2 separate regions of the Homo sapiens genome follow, and region 1 is linked to region 2. The links are contacts of gene promoters, found by promoter capture Hi-C in blood cells and fetal thymus (Javierre and others, 2016). All regions are on one chromosome and are shown on one strand. Each heading gives the region's core, a stretch centred on a gene start or on the middle of the fragment in contact. The rest is flanking DNA. Distances are from core to core; before and after follow the strand shown.

Region 1 (6,563 bases), core at 2,253-4,752, 340 kb after region 2:
GTTAAATAAATCCAGTTTCAAATTCCACAAGATCAAGGAACTGTTTGGCCAAATGAGGATTTAAATGGAAGCTATACTCTCAGAGAATGGCTAGCTACACTGATTTTAATCAGGAATAGAGGTACCAGAATACATGGGCACAGCTTTGGGTCCTCGGGCATAGAAAACGTGTTGGCAACCTGGAATGGCATCTGTCCTTATTGTTGCGTAATAGTGTGAGGTTGACACACTGTATAACAGAAGCCCTGCCTTTCAGGAATGTATCCTCTTTCTCCTTTCCAAACCTTTCTTCCCAAAACTTGTTCAGCAGGACTCTGGGGGAGAAGACGATCAGGAAACAAACCCAGGTGCCGCTTTCGCCGCCTGGAAAAATGGTCCAATCCTTATTTTACGGCTCTCTAGGCTCCCTCCCCACCTCAGCCTCCCCTCCCATCTCTCAGGCTCTCGCAGAGCAGCCACGGGAAGGTCCAGGCGTGCCAGGTCCCATTCCACCCAAACGCCCCTCCCGCAGTCCAATTCCAGAGCCGAGAGCTGCAAAGCGGCTCCCGACCCAGGAGCTGCGGGGAGAAAGCTACACGATGTCTGCGTCAGGGACCGCGAGAGGTCCCTCTCCCAAAGAACGCCTGGGCCTGACAACGAAAACAGGAGAAAAAGAGGTCGCGCAAGGGTTCTGCCGGGAGCCAGGCCTCCGCCGCCCACCAAATGCCCAGGCCCGAGACCGCTCCTCCCGGGCCCCCGGTGCGCAGGGCCGCGTCCAGCCCGCCCCGCCCTCCAGGCCCTCGGAGGTACTGAGGATGCAGCTCTAGTCGCCTGGGGCCAGGCCCTCCGCTGCCCGGGACGGCCCTCACCTTCCGCTTGAGGCGCCGGGAGAAGGAGGGATCCGGCCGACACCTCAGGCCGGGACACTTGGACCAACTGACCCCGGCAGCTCCGCCCACTCCGCCCACAGAACGTGCGCCGTGAGAAGAATCCCATCCCGTCCCAGCCGCTCGCCCGCCAATCCTGACTCGAGAATACACGCCTGCGCATTAGCTGCCCGCCTCACCCCAGTCGTCCAATCTCAAAGCACCGGGATCCACCTTTGCCATAACAAAAGGACACTGACATCCAATCAGGATTGAGGTCGCTGTGGGCGGGACCTGGAACAGCGACAGCCAATGACAGTAAAGAAGCGAAGCTAAGCGGCGCTGGTGAAGCGGCTCATCAGGTCTATCAGGAAACCTGAGAATTGGAGTGAGAATCCCAGTGTGGAAAATCAGGAAAGAGGCTGGTATGAGCGACAGAGAAGTCATTCAGGAAAGAGGTTGGTATGAGCGACAGAGAAGTCATTCAAGTTCGAGAAAAGAGCGTTTGCGAACCAAGCAGAGAAAGTCAACGCGACACCGTCGTTCCTTAATTCTAAAAGCAGACTTTTTCATATTTTTCTTATTTCCGAAATCGGAAAGCTTATAGTTGAGCTAGTGGAATGTTCCTCTCCTCACGCCCCTCCTCCGAAACTATTATTAAATCTGTAGTGCGTGGCCATTTAATATTTTAGAATTGAGAAAATACCCTAGTGGTACTGAGGCATAGCACTTGTGCTTACCTTACCCCTGTGGAGCCTCACAGCAACCCACAGAAAGGAACTGAAGCCTGAGCGTGAACACATTTCTTGCTCAAGGTCACATATACGGTATCAAGAGTGGAGTGTTCTTCGTGACACCGTTCATCGTAATCTAGTACTTGACACAAAGCGGCATCCTGCTTTAATATTCGTTGAGTACAAGGTAGACATCCACAGCAATACATTATTATTTTGGCTTTGGCACAGCCTCCTAAGCTGTAGAGACAAGCCTTATGTCTCCCTGTTTCTTGACTTTTTACTTCTGGCACAGTTTGCTGACACATCGCCTTAATCATTTTAAGAGCTATATAAAAATATCTTCTATTCAGTGTTTTGAGAACTATGCATTTGGCTGCGACTGCAATATTCAGTTTGAGGAAATTTACTAGAATGCAATGTAGGAGCTAAATAAATGAAAAAAAATCCAACATAAATCTAATAGGAGTGCCAAAAAAGAGAGACTAGAGAGAATGGATGCAGGCAGTATTCAAAGAGTAATAACTAAGAATTTTCCAAGATTGTGGAATATTTGAATTTTCAGATTCAAGAAGTACTTATTCTTGAGCAGGATTAATATAAGAATTCTATGCAACGGTGAAATTGCAGGACACCAAAGATCAAGAGAAACTATTAAAAGCAACCTTTTGTTTTTGCTAGAACAGTATTTTTAAATATTTTTAATTGTAGTGAAATATACATAGAATAAAATTTACCATCTTAACCATTTTTAACTTCAGTAGTATAAGATACATTCCACATTGTTCTCCAACCAATCTCCAGAACCAATCTCTCTTTTCATCTTGCCAAACTAAAACTGTATACCTATTAAAGAGCAACTCTCCATTTCCTATTCCCCTCATCCTCTGGCAGTAATCATCTTACTTTGTGTTTATCAGTTTGACTACTCTAGGTACCTCACCTAAGTGGAATAATACAGAATTTGCCCTTTTATGACTGGCTTATTTCATTTAGCATAATGCCTCAGAGTTCATCCATGTTATAGCATATTGCAGAACTTCCTTTTTAAGGCTGAATAGTTCTATATATCATTTATTATGTGTATTATGCCACATTTTGTTTATTCATCTATCAGTGGACGCTTAGGTTGCTTCCTCCTTTTGGCTATTGTGAATAATACTGCTATGGACATGGGTGTGCAAATGTCTCTTTGAGACCCTCTTTTCAGTTCTTTTGGATATACACCCAGAAGTGTGTGTTAATTTGTGCTGAATCATATGGTAATTCTATTTTAAAGCAACTTTTAAAAAAGTGGTATTGACACAAGAATAGACAAAAAGAAAATTAGGAAAAAAAGGGTACCTGGAAGTTGGTATACAATAAAGATGTCTGGTGAGGAATAACTGTTTCTAAGGTTGTGGGGAAAAAACTATTATTCATTACTGTTGGGAGTGTAAATTAGTATAGTAACTGTTCGTGGGATATAGAAAACACAAGTTATGGTGGTTCTAGTTAAATTGGCTATTTATATAAAAATAAGAAATTCAATCCTGATACCACGACAGAAATAAAACTAAATTCCAAATGAAATAATGATCCAAAATGTGACAAACAAAACTCTAAACTTTTAGAAGAAAAGCGTATGTCTGTATATCGCCGTAGGGAAGAAACAGCACGATTCATTAAGGAAAGATGTAAAATATTGATTATTTTAAAATTTGGAAGTTTTACAAACAGAAGAGAAGCCATCTCTAATCAAGTTAAAAAACAAGCCACAGGTTGGCAGAATATAGTAAAACTCTCAAAATATAAAGAATTCAGGCCAGGCGCGGTGGCTCACGGCTGTAATCCCAGCACTTTGGGAGGTCGAGGCGGGTGGATCACGAGGTCAGGAGATTGAGACCATCCTGGCTAACACGGTGAAACCCCGTCTCTACTAAAAATACAAAAAATTAGCTGGGCGTGGTGGCGGGCGCCTGTAGTCCCAGCTACTCGGGAGGCTGAGGCAGGAGAGTGGCATGAACCCAGGAGGCAGAGCTTGCAGTGACATGGTGCCACTGCACTCCAGCCTGGGCGACAGGGTGAGACTCCGTCTCAAAAAAAAAAAAAAGAATTCAGACAAATCAGTAAGAAAAAGACAACTCAAGATAAATATATGCAAATAACGTAAGTAGGCCACTTACAGAAGAGGAAAACTGAACGGCCAGAAAGGTTTTTAAAAAATGTTTACCTTCACTAATAATTAGGTAAAATAACATTAAAACAATTAGATAAAGGGGCATATTCATCAAGAAGACACAAAATCCTAACCACAGTGCTACAAAATAGAAATGAATCAAAAATTAATTGAATTCAAACAGTTCATTACTCCCTGCTCTGCAATTTGTAAAACAACTATACAGATAATTTAAGTATACAGAACTCAGGTCCCAAACTTTTCAGTATATTAGAATCACCTGGGAATCTTTTAATTATTCTAGTGAACAGACCACACCTCAGAATAAATTACAGTCTTAAGGAGTGAGATACAGGCATTAGTATTTTTGAAAGTTACGAAGGTGATTTTGAAAAAAGGCTGGCAAATTTCTGAACTATTGATATAGAAGACCTGAACAATCCTATCAGCCAACTTGACCTAATGGACATTTGTAGAACATTGCACCCAATAACTGAAGAACATGCTTTCTTTTCCAATGCACTTGGAAAATTCATCAAAATAGACTCCACTGTGTATCATCAAACAAATCTCAGCAAATTTAAAATAATTGAAACAGTAAAAATTATTGTCTCTACCCACAAATTAAACTAGAAATCAGTAACAGAAAGATATTTGTAAATCTCCAAATAGTTGGAAATCAAACTATGTACTTCTAAACAAACCATGGGTCACAGGGGAAGTCACACACAAAAAAATTAGAAAGTAATTTTAAACTAAAATGTAAACATAAAAAGGCAGCTCTTGCATGACTCAGCTTTCAGCTTATTTTCAGCTTTCAGACTTGGGAGGCTGAAGCAGGAGAACTGCTTGAACCCAGGAGGTGGAGGTTGTAGTGAGCTGAGATGGCGCCATTGCACTCCAACCTGGACAACAAGAGCGAAACTCCATCTAAAAAAAAAAAAAAAAAAAAAAAAAAAAAAAAAAAAAAATCCCCCTTCTGAATAAGGAAAGGCTATAAGTACAAATAGAAACCACTGAGATTGCATAGAAATATTTGATTATAAGGTGAACATTCATGCGACCTGGACTATGTGAATATTGATAATATAGTTCATCTAAATAAAGGCACAAAATTACATTTTTTTTCCTAGAGAATGGGGGAAGTCCTAATTGAAAACTGTACAAGGCAATATATTATGTGGGGGAAGAAATGATAAATAATGAAATAGAGAACTTCCAATATCTTTTTGATGTTCCAGTCTGGCACACTCTCATTGTGCACATACAAGCTGCTATTTTGTCTTAATTAGAGGGTTCTAAACGTACTGTGGATATTTAAGGTGAAATATGCTAAATGGAAGCATTTTTGATAACTTTCAAGTATAACCAGGTGTGTTGTCTGATGCTTTAAGCTCATTAATTTGCAGAACATGTTCCATCTCATTCCTAAATAAGAACTCACATTTTCTTTTTTACTCATTTTTTTCACTTGAAAGGTTATTGAATTCATTGGAGAATGAATGCTGTTCTGAATTTGGTGAGTAAAGAATATAACCTATTTGTTAAAACTTGATTTCAAAACTAGACGTAATTGTATACTACAGCCTAGTATACTATACTCAACAGTATACCATATAGCTATTTGGTAAATTAAGGTGTTCATGTATACTTTCTCAAGATTATAATTTCTGATAATAACCAAAAGTAAATAAATTTGATGAGTCATTTTCATTTATTTGTTCAATAGGTAGAGGGAATGTAAGAAATTACCAATGTACTTTTAGAGTTTTTTCAAGCAAGAATTCCAAAGGATTTCAAGGTCTTTATGGAATCAAGCTTTGGACTTTATCATAAAAATGGAAATAATTAGGAATGATTCTGTGCAGTCTCGGTGCTGTGAAAGGAGAATAAAAACGTGAGACTCCAGTTCACTCTGCCAGAAGGAAAAAAATAAGCTGAAAGCTGAGTCATGCAAGAAGCTGCCTTTTCTTCTGTTCCTAAGCAGATAGCTACAGATAAAAGGTTAAATATCTCCATAGGTAGCTACTCTATGTTCACCCTATTTCATGTAAAGTGCTGATTTGCTGCACACAAGATGAATGCATCATTCACCATTCCCCTACCTGCGCCTTTTCTCCTGCAACTTAGATTACTATACCCTCGCTCTTACCTCTCCAACCCACTTTTCCCCTTTAAATACTGAAGCTCTCAAAGTCATCCTTGGATAAAGGAACAGACCAGAGACTGTTTCTGTGATTCTGTGTTCTTTTCTTCCAGGTATGTCCTTAACCTTGGCAAAATCAACTTCTAAATTGAATGAGACCTGTCTGAGATACTTTTTGGTTTACAGTCCTTATTTTTCTCTAGATAGTATTTTCAAATTAGCATTTCCCCCAGAATTGGTATTTATACCTCTGGTTGTACAAGATGAATTTTTAAAAATAATTACATGTTTATTTTATTATAATAAATACGAATAATACAAGAAATTCTCAATTCACAGATGTTAACATGTTGCTTAGAATAAAGCTAAGTTCAAAACTGATTTTAATTAAATGGTTAATTTAATGTGGCAAAAATTATGATGTAGGTATATGATTGGTTCAGAAAACTCTGATCTACCAACAACGTGACAAGCATTGGTTTGAAGAAGAAGAAACCTGGGTTCTTGTTCTGGCTCAGCCTAGATTGAATTCATTCCATTCTTTGCTCATTTAAAAGTTTAGTTTTGTGACTATATCGTGAGCTAGATACTGTACAGCATTCAAATATTTGAAATTAACCATGAGACTGCAGGGAGTTAGTCACTTTCCTGTCCACCCCTGTTTCCTCAAGTGAGGGCTT
Region 2 (6,845 bases), core at 3,225-5,724:
GTGACAAGTTTATAGCATGAAAAGAGAATGGTTTCCTGGAAATGACTTTGTAATTACTTTGCAAAGAAGGGCCCCCAACTCTAGTACACTACTTTTGTTATTGCCAATGATGATTTCTTCTCATCCATTATTGATATTTTTTTTTCTTTTTTGAGACAGGGTCTTGCTTTGTCACCCAGGCTGGAGTACAGGGGCACGATCATGGCTCTCTGCAACTTCCATCTCCAGGTTCGAGGGATTCTCTCACCTCAGCCTCCCAAGTAGCTGGGACTCTAGGCAAGCTCCACTACACCCAGCTGATTTTTAAAAAACTTTTTGTAGACATAGGAGTCTCACTGTGTTGCCCTTGCTGGTCTCCAACTCCTGGGCTCAAGCAATCCTCCTTCCTTAGCTTCCCAAAATGTTGGGATTATGGGCATGACCCACTGTGTCCAACCTATTATCAATGTTTTTCAAAACAGGTTTCAAGCTATCTTCAGGCCATGACTAAACTACTTAGAAAATTTCAGTTGGGCCTAATATATTCTGTAAGGGACTTATCTACATTTACAGGTCATTTACATTTATTGAAAACACATCCTGTTACAATAGACATCTTGATAAAATAAGGGTGTTACTGGTTACCGTACCCATGGTTTTGCACAGTCAAACCATCTTTGGTGAGCTTCTTTGTTTTGTTTCTCTCCCTTGTTGGTGCCAGGGTGTTTTCTTTATTTTCAGGTCTTCCGAGCTCAATTTTCTCTTTAAGGCTTTATCTAGACTTTAGCTGAAGATTGCTCCCACGTTATCCATCACAAAATGAAATTTGTCTGTGAGGTCCCTCAGTCTTATCCAGGTGGATAAAGGCTAAGATAGAAATGGAATGCAGGTGGAGTTGCTTGCCCTCAAAGTGATGAGGTTCCACGAAACTCCCAGGAATCAAGCCAGGCTGCTACTGTATCTCTCCCTTGCAAATAGCATGATTGTTTTAATTACAGTCTGTAGCCACTATTTTTATCTGTGTTAGAATATTTGGATGCAAGACTGGAAAACATTATTGCTGTTAATGCCTTTGCACCTTCTTATATAACTTGCTATAGTGTGGAAGGGAACATTTACTCAAAGAGCCTATCCAGATGGAGCCAAAGGGGTTAGTTAGGGTTTTTGTTGGTCACTTTGGGTTATAAGGAACAGGAGTCATTCAAGGTACTATGAATTCAACTTGCTGGGCTTTGTTACCAGGATGTATGCAAACTGCAGCCAGTCTGAAAGACCAGAAGCAAGATAACTGGAGGGTATAAACTGAAAATTCTAAGCTCCCCCAACTGATTGATTGGACCCCTTCTGTCAGCCAAGGGGATTCCAAAGTAAACCTGAAAAACTAGTTCAGGCCGTGATGAGAAAGGGGGGTCAGACATGCCTCATTATACTCTCCTTCCTTTGGAATTCAGGCACAACTGACCAGTATTAATATTAAAACAGAGATCTTAAGACTGACAAAACAGACTTGCTTTGTTTGTTTGTTCGTTTGTTTGTTTTGAGACAGGGTCTCACTCTGTCACCCAGGTTGGAGTGCAGTGGTGGGGCTACTGCTTACTGCAGCCTCGATCTCTCCTGGCCTCAAAAAATCCTCCCACCTTAGCCTCCCGAGTAGCTAGGGCTATAGGTGCACAACGCCACACCTGGCTAATTTTTAAATTTTTTTGTAGAGACAGGATCTCACTGTGTTGCCCGAGCTGGTCTCCTGGGCTCAAACAATCTTCCTGCTTCAGCCTCCCAAAATTCTGGGATTACAGGCATGAGCCACTATGCCTGCTCCAAAACAGACTCTTTGTAGCAGTAAGGTGCCTAATTCCAACCTGACTCTAGTATAGCATCACATGACAGAGAGCAGACTCTGAAAAAATTATTTTACCCCAAAATGTATTTCTTTAGCATGTTTTAAAATGGTCCTGGAAAGCTATCTCTTATGGAGGAAATGTACATTTTGTAGAAAGTCTTCCCTTTTCAGGTCTTTTTCTGATCCTGAAGAGATTAGCTCAGAGCTTAGCACCTTGTAAAGGTCTGAAGAGAAAACATTTGCTGTCTGTTGCCTCTCAGAGTGGCCACCTATGAGACATCATCTAAATAATAAGAATTTTGGTCTCCATAACCCCTTATCTTAACCCAACCACTTCTTTCTAACGATTAGAAGTCTTTAGATCATAACTTTCAATCGCCATTAAGAAAATCCTTGAATCCACCAAAGACCCAGAAGCCCCCACTTTGAGTGGTTCCTCCTGTCCAGACCAAGTTGATATACACCTTACATGTGTTGATTGATGTCTTATGTCCCTGTAAAACATATAAAACCAAGCTGCAACCCAGCCACCATGGGTACATGTTCTCAGGACCTCTTGAGACTGCCTCAGGCCTTGAACACTCATATTTGGCTCAGAATAAACCTCTTTAAATATTTTACAGAGCTTGACTCTTTTTTGCCAACAAGGGAAGTGGCTCATCTTTTCATCCTAGGCCACGTTTTAGCCTTGTGTGTTTGCACTAATCAAAGTCCCTGGTGAAAGGCTGCACAAGGTTGCCTTATTCTGTATCATCTTGCATTCACCTCTTCAGCCCCCCAGGCTAATATTATGCCAAGGGTTACCGATTCTGATTTTTGCCAGTGACCTTTACAGAAAGCAGCAGGAGCTGATTGGTTAAGTGGCTTCATCATTTACAAACTCTTATAGTAGGATCTTTAATGTTTCATTGATCCTATAGTATTAAAAACTGCAATTACTTTTGCACCAACCTAGTGGTTCATTATTTGATTATAATACATGTACATTGTACAAATTATAAAAGTACAATGTTTTATAGTGTATAGTTCCAATAGTATAGAAATTACTTTAAAAAATATAGTTTTTTTTTTTTAATTCTTTTTCAGAGATAGGGTCTCACTCTGTCTCCCAGGCTGAAGTGCAGGGTGTGGTCTTAACTCACTGCACCCTCTACCTCCTGGGCTCAAGTGATCCTCCTGCCTCAGTCTCCCAAGTAGCTGGAACTACAGGCATGCACCACTACACCTTGCTTAATTTTTAATATTTTTTTTGTAGAGACAAAGTCTTAATTATTGCCCAGGCTGTCTCAGACTCCTGGGCTCAAGTGGTCTTCCCACCTTGGCCTCCCAAAGTCCTGGGATTACAGTCCACTGTACCTGGCCTAAAAATATATTTCAAATAATAAAAAATGTTTCTGATTTCTGCCATATCAATCTCATTCCCAAGAGGTAACCATTATTAAGTTTAATATGCATCTTTCCTGGCATTTCCTTTGTTAATATAAGCACAGAGTGGCTGGTCTCCTGGGCTTTTTTCTTTGTCTTGCTTATATGTAGCTGAAGGCAACACCATGGGTACTTAGAGATTTAATGAATACTCAGTGGAAGGCCCATGAGGCGGCTCACACCTGTAATCCCAGTGCTTTGGGAGGCCAAAGTGGGAGGATCCCTTGAGCCCAGGAGTTGTAGACCAGCCTGGGCAACGTAATGAGACCCCCATTTCTATAAAAAAATTTAAAAATTAACCTCAAGACTCAGACCTTAGTTATAGATTAAAAGAAGTTAATCACCTATGTCTTTAGATGAATGCACACTTACATGTAGACATATAGCTTAGAAGGTATATAAGCTCTGGAAAACTGTAATTTTGAGTTGGTCTGGTGATAATTTCCAGGCCTTCTCCCTGTAACCGGTTGCAGAAATAAAAACTTTCTTCCTCCCCAGTTCATTTGCATCTCGTTATTAGGCCATGAGAAATAGCAGCCCGACCCTCAGTTTGTTCCGGAAACAATCATGCCACTGCATTCCAGCATGGGCAACAGAGCAGGATCCCATTTATCTATCTATCTATCTATCTATCTATCTATCTATCTATTTTTTTGAGATGGAGTCTCACTCTCTTGCCCGGGCTGGAGTACAATGGCGTGATCTCGGCTTCACTGCAACCTCCGCCTCCCGGGTTCAAGCAATTCTCCTGCCTCAGCCTCCTGAGTAGCTGGGACAACAGGCGCCCGCCACTACGCCTAGCTAATTTTTTGTATTTTTAGTAGAGATGGGCTTTCACCATGTTGGCTAGGCTGGTCTCGAACTCTTGACCTCGTGATTTGCCCGCCTGGGCCTCCCAAAGTGCTGGGATTACAGGCCTGAGCCACCGCACCTGGCATATATATATATTCTTTTTTTTTAAAGAGCATATTCAGAGAATACTTGATAAAAATGGTAAAATCAATTTGATTCATTTTGACACTGTAAACTTCCTGACTTGAGATAAACTAGTTATTAAACATCAAGTGCCTGCAACTGGAGTAAGGAATGTGATTCAGTGTGTATGAATACGTACCAGTTTGTAGCATTGATGAACTCCGTATACCAGAGGGAAAAAATGAACTTCAAAAAAAAATTTCTAAAATGTAAACGCCAGGTCCCTCTCCAAGGAAGTGTGTTTTTGAGGGAGCCTCTCATTTAGATATGGACTCTTAGCTAGCATGTTGCAACCTAGCAACAAGATTTCTAACCTGTGGTTATCTGTTGTGAAGTAGCAGCGTTAGTATAACCATGGTAACTGTCTGTTTGCTTGATGGCATGAGCTCTCTTTGAGTAAAAAAAGCCCAAAATAAAAGGTTGGAGGTAATTATATATTTTTTGTTTTCTCATCATAAATGTATTGAATGTACATTTGAGATATTTTTGAAAACACAGAAGACCATAAAATAGCAGAATTGTCATCTCACCTACTAATGTTAATATTCATATTTAGTTTTGTATTCTTTAAAATTAATACATGTATTGTAATTTGTAATATAGGTTATATTATACTTTTTTAGACAAATTGGGATCATACAGAATAGTAATTAGTTTTGTGCTGTTTTTCATATGCTAGGTGCATTTCACCATGTCATGAAATAATTACTTGAAGGTATGATTTTAAATGTCTACATATTATATCAATGTACTATAATTTATTTAGACATTGTAGGTCATTACCTAAATGTAATTTTGAATTCAGAATTATTTCTATTTCATATTATTTCGTTGCCAAGTTGTTCTTCAGCTTATCGATGCTCTCAATTATTGGCAGTTGAATTACGTAAGAGGATACATGAATTAGAAGAAGGGTTGACATCTCAGGACAGTGAGTGGCTTCTGCAAATGTGGCCTTCCTGAGAGAAGGGATCTGAGGGGTATTGCCCCCAGGTATCCAGGAGGGGATTGATATAGCTAATCTCTTAGAAACAGAGGTGGGCTTCATAGCGATGAACTCTTCCTACCACACCAAAAAGGCCCCTCCTTCCTACCTCTCAAGGTTGACCTTGGCTGACCTTGACCTTTGAGTTTTAGGTTTTCAGACCCGCCTCTACAGCCAAGATTAGAATCAATATAACTTCCTGTTGCACACAGAAGCAGCTGTAAATCTAAGACAATAGCATCCACTTTCCTATTACGGGACTTGAGGGGAAATTAAATTAAGCCCCCGCCTTTTGAGGGGCTTCTTTGAGGAATTAGATCACACAAGGCTTGGCGTAATTTTTTAATAACTTCAATCACATTGTCCTCACTGGTCCGTATCAGAGCAGATTTGAGTCCTGCACAAAGTCTGAAAGCAGCAAGCTTGTTCGTGGGGAAAGAATGAGCCAACACACTGCTGGGGTTTCAAGGCCAGCTTCCTAGGTATGCTTGTACACAGGAACCTACACTTAGAAAAGCGCTGGGCTTGGCTTAATATTCTACTGCTGCTGCCTTGAAATTCTGAAGAATTTTTTAACAAGGGGTCCTGAATATTCTTTTTGCACTGGGCCCCACAGATTATGTAGTTGGTCCTGATTAGGGTGTAGAGCAAGGTATTGCAGTAATAAAGTATTTGAATCATTCCTTCCTCAGACCACCCCCCCACCCAGGAGAAGGAAAAATCCATTCCAACTGTTCTCACTTTATGCAGGAGCAGGTGCTTGTGACTTTAAGAGATGGGCTTGCAGGGGAAATGGAACAGCTCCTGGAAGACATGGCCTTTTGAGGGTGCTTAGGAGATTTGAGCAGCACATACTAATTGGATACAGATAAAATGCTCTTCAGATTTTAGTTTTCTGCTCTGTTTGTTTAGTCATAACCCAGCCTGTGTTTTATCTTTTGAGGTGGAAAATATGAAAGTCACGGCTTCTCTCTCTCTTGTTGAGCATTTACTTTGTGAGTACTTATATGAACATGTATATCAAAGACCCTGTGATCCAGAATACTGCTTAAAATTCTACAGAGTGGGCGCTCCACCTCTCTTAGCTTTGTCATTCTTCTCCCTTTAGCTCACTCCCCTCTTTGTAAGAAATGAGGCAGGGGTCTCTCGGGGATCACCTAACACACTAGTTCATATTCCCAGCACTTTTTAACCAGTGCCCCTCGGGATAAACATACAACAAAACCCTCATGCCTCCTTCATTCACATATGTTGAGTTTTATGTTAGTTTGTTGAGTTTTATATTGGTTTGCATTGTGAAAACAGTCATTTTTTCCCAAATGAGAGTTATAGAATTGCGTGTGCTCTGTAAAGCTATATAAATGATTCTAAGAAACACAGTCCCAAGAACATGACTGCCCTAGAGCCTCTCCTCCCCTAATTTAATACTGTTTAAAGCAGGGGTTCCTGACTGTCAGGCTGCAGACAAGTACCTGTCAGTCCGTGGCCTGTTAGGAACTGGGCTGCACAGCAGGAGGTGAGTGGCAGGTGAGGGAGCATTTGAGCTCCACCTCGTTTCAAATCAACTGCAGCATTAGGTTCTTACAGGCACGAGAACCCTATTGCGAACTGCACATGCAAGGGATCTAGGTTGCAAGCTCC

Evidence for each region. The method cuts DNA at HindIII sites, captures the fragments that hold promoters and counts their contacts. A CHiCAGO score of 5 or more calls a contact.
Region 1: a fragment that was not itself captured here is called in contact with the fragment with the promoter of TBC1D9-AS1 in region 2 in 1 of 17 cell types (total B cells); the score reaches 6.3 in total B cells.

The regions. Positions count from the first base shown.
Region 1 is chr4:140,368,003-140,374,565 of GRCh38, reverse strand. SCOC-AS1 (SCOC antisense RNA 1) reads left to right here and starts at 1,174. Exons shown (of 5, transcript NR_033939.1): 1 at 1,174-1,303; 2 at 5,216-5,256. It overlaps SCOC (short coiled-coil protein), which reads right to left and starts at 920. Exons shown (of 4, transcript NM_001153484.2): 1 at 849-920. RefSeq lists a silencer at 631-830 and enhancers at 991-1,040, 736-1,237. The HindIII fragment of the contact is 4,110 bases long and covers 1,448-5,557 here.
Region 2 is chr4:140,709,797-140,716,641 of GRCh38, reverse strand. It overlaps TBC1D9-AS1 (TBC1D9 antisense RNA 1), which reads right to left and starts at 4,474. Exons shown (of 2, transcript XR_007058283.1): 1 at 4,359-4,474; 2 at 546-846. All of the region lies in intron 1 of TBC1D9 (TBC1 domain family member 9), which reads left to right. The HindIII fragment of the contact is 8,622 bases long and covers 1-5,628 here.